2 separate regions of the Homo sapiens genome follow, and region 1 is linked to region 2. The links are contacts of gene promoters, found by promoter capture Hi-C in human tissues and cell types (Jung and others, 2019). All regions are on one chromosome and are shown on one strand. Each heading gives the region's core, a stretch centred on a gene start or on the middle of the fragment in contact. The rest is flanking DNA. Distances are from core to core; before and after follow the strand shown.

Evidence for each region. The method cuts DNA at HindIII sites, captures the fragments that hold promoters and counts their contacts. A contact is called where the count stands out against the background at its distance.
Region 1: a fragment that was not itself captured here is called in contact with the fragment with the promoter of ZFP69 in region 2 in 1 of the 25 tissues and cell types used here (adrenal gland).

What each region holds. Positions count from the first base shown.
Region 1 is chr1:39,938,079-39,941,031 of GRCh38, forward strand. No RefSeq gene overlaps it. Among named protein-coding and RNA genes, the nearest start is that of MFSD2A, 16 kb to the right of the region's middle. The HindIII fragment of the contact is 8,075 bases long and covers 1-2,953 here.
Region 2 is chr1:40,475,962-40,479,338 of GRCh38, forward strand. ZFP69 (ZFP69 zinc finger protein) reads left to right here and starts at 1,329. Exons shown (of 6, transcript NM_001320179.2): 1 at 1,329-1,933; 2 at 3,075-3,377. RefSeq lists a silencer at 1,068-1,537. The HindIII fragment of the contact is 19,716 bases long and covers 1-3,377 here.

The DNA.
Region 1 (2,953 bases), core at 176-2,675, 540 kb before region 2:
CATGCCCAGCTAATTCATTTATTCTTTTATTCGTCAAACAGTTATTGAGCACATATAATAAGTAGATTTATATTATTTAATTTTTTAAATTTGTTTTAGAGACAGAGTCTTGCTGTGTTGCCTAGGATGGAGTGCAGTGGTGCCATCATAGCTCACTGCAGCCTCGAACTCCTGGGCCGAAGTGATCCTCCCGCCTCAGCTTCCTGAGTAGCTAGACTACAGGTGCACGTCACCATGCCCAGGTAATTATTTTATTTTTGTAGATACAGGATCTCAGTGTGTTGTCTGGGTTGGTCTTGAACCCCTGGGCTCATGCCATCCTCCCACCTCAGCCTCCCAAAGTGCTGGGATTACAGGTGCCGGCCCAATAAGTAGATTTTATTTTTTATTTTTCTTTTCTTTTTTTTTTTGTTGAGACTGAGTTTCACTCTTGTTGCCCAGGCTGGAGTGCAATGGTGCAATCTCAGCTCACTGCAACCTCCGCCTTCCAAGTTCAAGCGATTCTCATGCCTCAGTCTCCTGAGTAGCTGGGATTATAGGCATGTGCCACCACACCCGGCTAATTTTTTTGTATTTTTAGTAGAGACGGGGTTTCTCCACGTTGGTCAGGCTGGTCTCAAACTCCTGACCTCAGGTGATCCGCCCGCCTTGGCCTCCCAAAGTGCTGGGATTACAGGTGTGAGCCACCACGCCCAGTGACAGTAAGTAGATTTTAAACAGGGGCATAAAATGGTCTGATTTTATTTTAAAAATTGGTCTGTTTTTGGAGATGGGATCAGAGGGGAACACTTAGGCATTGCTGCAACAGTCCAGAAGAGATGGGATGAAGGTCTGAAGATAGCAAGTGGCAGTGTCATCTTTATAAAGCACAGATGTGGTCATTTGACTCTTCTGTTAAGAATCCTTTCGGTGGCTCCCCACAGTCTTCAGGATGAGAATGCAAGGCCTCCTTCTATCTTCTTGGCCTCAGGGGCCACCAGTTTCCCATACAGCAGCCCAAGCTGCTCACTGATTCCGCTCCCCACACCCTCCATCATGCCTCCATGTCTGTGGTGTTCCCTTTGCCGGGCATGCCCTTACCCATCACGGGAACTCCTTCTCAACCTTCCGCGCTCAGCTCCATTATCACCTCCTCTGTTAAGCTTTGCCAGACCACCACGCCCAAACGGAATCTGGTGTTCTCAGTTTTGTACATGCAGGCCTTTGCCAAATCATTTTGTTAGTTAGTTTGTTTTTTCACAGAGTCTCGCTCTCTGTCGCCCAGGCTGGAGTGCAGTGGCGCAATCATATCTCACCGTAACCTCCACCTCCTGAGCAATCCTCCCATCTCAGCCTCCTGAGTGGCTAGGACTACAGGGGTGCACCACCACACCCCAGCTCACTTTTTTATTTTTTATTTTTCATAGAGACAGGATCTCCCTATGTTGCCCAGGCCCCTGTCATCCTAGCTACTCAGGAGGCTGAGGTGGCAGAATTGCTTGAGCCCAGGAGGTGGAGGTTGCATTGAGCCATGATCATGCCACTGTACTCCAGCCTGGGTGACAGAGTGAGACTCTGTGAAAAAAACAATTAAATCAATAATAAAAATCTCCCTATGTTGCCCAGGAGTTCAAGCCCAGGACAACATAAGGAGATTTTTGTTCTTTTATTTTTGAGATCCTCCCTATGTTGCCCTGGTCTCGAACTCCTGAGCTCAAGAGATGCTCCTGCCTTGGCCTCCCAAAGTGTTGGGATTATAGGTGTGAGCCACTGTGCCTGGGCCAAAATAATTTTGTAACAGTCTGCTGTGTTTATCTCCACAACTAGATGTGACTCCTTCAAAGGACAAGATCATCCATACCTCATTCATATATATTGCTGGGTGGGCCAAGAGTAAATTTAATGAATATATTGACAAGGCCACCTTTATATCTCCAAGTATCCTTTTACATAATTTTTTTCCTTAAGGTTCCCATGTTCTACATTTTTAATCTTGGAACATGGTAAGGAACTTGTTTTGCCATTTTCTATTAATCGAAGACATATATCCTGCCAATCAGAGGGAAAGGATAAAGGAACAAAATGAACATTTGTTGAGAGCGAACTGTAACGCTTGTTTTGCACACATATTGTCTCACTGGATCCTGAGGATGCCACTATGAGGTATTATTACAGATCATATAAATAAGACTCAGAGAAGTTGTGACCTGCCTAAAGTCACATGGCTAGCTAGTGACAGAAATGGATTCAAACCCTGATGGGGCTGACTCCAGGCCCACATAGCCCCACCTATGCTGTTATCTCTTGCTCTTAATCAGCATGAGATCACAGCGTCGCTGTGCTGATTCTGAAGCCAGCCACCCAGAGCTGGAGGTCTTGGCTTGCCACAGTGGAGGAAGTAGCCGTCACAAAGCTCTGGGTTGCCCAACATGCTTTTTGTGCAGATGGGCAAAAGGAGGCCCGAAGAGGGGGAACGACTCCAGGGGTGCCCAAGGCAGATTCTGCTTCTGCCACCCTGGTCTGAGTCCAGCAAGTCACTTACTCTAAAAGGCCCTTCCAACTCTGAGAGGGTCCAGGCTAGCAGACCAAGGCAATGTCTCCTTGCAGGAATGTGGTGTGAGCATGAGGGCAGGGCTCTGGGCAGCCAGGAAGAAAGAGGTATTCCTCAGGCTTCAGCCCCCTCGCTGTCCTCTGAGGCCACCCGGTAGCTTGGTCCAACCACTGGGGCTCCCTTAGAGGTACACTTTGGCCTCGGATGGCGTAGCTGTCTGTGCCAAGGCTGGCGTTGCGCAGCTTCTCACACTCTGTCATTCTTAACGTCTTCTTGGCAGTCAGTCTCTCTGAAAAAGTAGAGCTGTCTTTGTCTTCTGGGGAGGATCCTGACCGTGGGAAAGTCTAGGATGAGAAGATGCTGGGACACAGGTTGGTGGTGGGAAGGGCACCAGCTGTCCTAAAGAATCTCTGGGTGCTCTCC
Region 2 (3,377 bases), core at 79-2,578:
GGCTGGTCTTGAACTCCCGAGCTCAAGCAATCCACCTGCCTTGGCCTCCCAAAGTGCTGGGATTATAGACATAAACCACTGTGTCCAGCCCAAGAAAATATTATTTTGCGGTTTGCATCAAATAATTCTAAAAGCAGTTGTTTCTGCAGGTCTATTTCCAATGTTTGTGTTTCTGCTGGTTCTCACTAAGAATCTAGTTTCTTTGTGTACCTGGTTATCTTTAATTCTGTATTTGACATTGTCTATGAAAACTTATGTGTAGGAAAAATGTCGGCCCTACAATTATAAGGCTTTCCTCCACCTATTTGCTTTTGCCAAGCATCTGGTGACACCATAGTCAGAGACAGTCTTAAACCAAGATAATGTCTGAGACAGGCAATTTGATGCAGTCTGTAAATTCCTTTTAAGCTGTTCCATTTTCAATTCATCCTCACCCTGAGGCTGTTGCCCTTTGGGGTCCCAGTTATTGTAAGGAGGGTCTTCTTCTTCTTCTTCTTTTTTTTTTTTTTTTGAGATGGAGTTTTGCTCTTGTCGCTCAGGCATGGAGAAACCCCATCTCTACTAAAAATACAAAATTACAGGCATGGTGATGCGTGCCTGTAATCCCAGCTACTCTGGAGGCTGAGGCAGGAGAATCACTTGAACCCGGGAGGCAGAGGTTGCGGTGAGCCAACATCGCGCCACTGCACTCCAGCTTGGGCAACAAGAGCGAAACTCCGTCTCAAAAACAAATTTATATATTATATATATATGTATATATATATACACATACACACACACACACACACACACGTATTCCAGAATTTTATTTTTAAATTTTATTGTTGTTTTCTACAGTGGGTTGATACAAATATCCTAGCCCATCATCTCCCCACCCTGCTTTCCTTTTCTTCATGGTCCTCACAATCGCCTGGGGTATTATCTATTTATTTTTCTATTTGTTATTGTCAATTAATTTCAATGTAATTAAGTTCCAAGAAAGCAGGAACTGCGTTTTGTTAACTGCTGTATACGCAGGGCCAATAAGAATGTGGGGGTAGATCTTACACACTCAGAATAGATAACTGAATGAATGAATGAATGAATGAGTGAATGAATGAATGACAGGGAAGGCGCTTCACCGGAAAGGCTGAAGGAGGTCTCCCAAGGACCGCTGTGAGGAAACGGGGGGCGGCGTGGGTGGGTGGCCGCTACCCACGGTTCCGGACGGCCCTCGGGGGCGCGCTCGGGCGGCTTCCAGCTTCCGGGTTCGAGGGCGCGCGCTGCTTCCCGGGAGAGGGCGGGCTCCGTGGCAGCCCCCTGTGGGCGGAGCCGGCGGCCGGGGCTCACAACCCGCCGGAAGACGCGCGGGTTGTGGCAGCTGCAGCGGGACCGCGTGGGGTGGGCCCCGGGACCGCCAGGGCTGCAGCGAGAGCGGCCGGCGGTGCAAGCGGCCGGGAGGGCGCGGCCGGAGGCAGAGGCCAGGCGAGACACCCGGCTGCGGCCTAAGAGGCCAGGCTGGGTGGGCTTGGCTGCAGCCGCCAGCCCCGTGTTAAAGCGGCAGCCAGGGAGGTGTATCCTCCCCGGGGTCTGCAAGACGCCGGCTCAGGGCATCCCTCCCATTCCGGCCCTCAAAGCCTCGCTCCTGGGGGCGCTGCTGGGAAAGCCCACCCGCCTGGGCGGGCCCTTGATGGGAATGTGGAGCAGACCCTCGTCCACTCCGGAGGCCGAGGGTCCTCCGGGCTTCCGAAGGAAGCCGACCTCAACGCTGGACGCTTCTTGGAGAATGATTGCGTTGAGTGGAGATGTGGTCTGTCTATAAAAGGCCGGGAGGGAACAATATCTGTTACCACTCAGTCCGTCTCTAAAGAGACACTCTTTACCGCTGAAAACCTCAAGAGTGAGCACTCCCACGCCCCCGTCTCTGGTCCTACCTGGGTCCAAGGCCGATGTGGTGAGTAGGAGTCTGTGTGCAGTCTTTGAGTCCGAGGGTGGCATGTCTGGGAGCACTGTGAGGGTGGGGCATCTTCGATATGAAGCTTCTCAGCCATTAACTGTTTCCCGAGTAAGATTCGAAAATTCGTGCACTTTGGTAACAAGACTTTTTATGTATTCAGGGGTGGGATATTTCTCACAAGCTCCAATTCCTAGAACACACGCAGCTCCTGTCTCTGCATATAGTCACACACACACACACACACACACACACGCCTATAAGTCACATACCCATCCTTCTCCAACAAACTTCAAAAAGTTGGGCCAGCTCCCTTCCCACGTAGCTCCGACTGTTCTTGGAGTGCCGTATACTTTGGACCTGGTCACGGTCAAAGCACCTGCTCAGATTCTAGGGTTTGGTTGAGATGATGGATTTGAGTTGTTTCCAAATTTGCCTATTACTATTCTGCAGTAGTCCTCATTATACTAAATTTACACCATTTGAAGACATACCCTCTTCCCCAATTTTAACATTTCTGAAACCAAGATGCATCTTCCCAGTGTGGTTCCAAGGAACTTGCCAGCTGCTGGGCATCTGCGTGGGTGGTGACGTGGCTGTCACTGCTTGTTCATGCCAAAATGCAGCTATGTCATTATTCTGTCAGTTGAGATATTTTGAACTTTAAATTCAGATTTAATGGTTTCTAAAAATAACTTTAAAAATTAATACTATGATTCAGCAATATGATAACAGGTTTATAACAATGTTCATTAAGGGTTTACTGTATGCCTAGCATTGTCTCAACCAACATTACAACTCTATAGAATACAATTATTATCTCCATTTTATAGATTAAGAAACTGAAGCTGAGAGTTGAAGTGTCATAGAGCTTTTAAGTGCAAGTGTCAGGTTTCTAAGCCAGGCTGTCTGATTTCAAAGCCTGCCCTCTTAAACCCCGTCTGTGTCCAGGCAGAAGATGCATGCAGCTTACAAGGAGGGAAGATGAGGCATGGTCTGTGCATGTTTGTACATCTTTGCATGTTTGTGTATGTATGTATAGAACTGGAGATAGAGCCACGTCCAGGAACATGTATTATATTTATTCCTGCATGGATATTTTTCTTTTGGGTATTTTGCAGTTTTAAATATATTTCTGCAGATTCTGGAGTTCTGGAGACAAGTGCTTCTGGATCCCTCTTCCCTTCCCTTTTGCTCCTCTAAAGAGTATGGAGACATGAACTCAAACCTAACTAACTGGCTGCCTCCCAAAGAAAGTGCTTGATTTAAAGGGGAGTTTGTTTTCCAGAATTGTTAAAGTCACATCAGTCTCTAGGAACCCCCAGGTCCTGGTGCTGCAGGGACACACCAGAGTCCTGAGGGCAGGTGATTGGAATCTGAGCAACACCCCACAACTGTGAAGCGTCTCATCAAGAGCTTCTGGCAATTTCCTCACCAGAAGTGG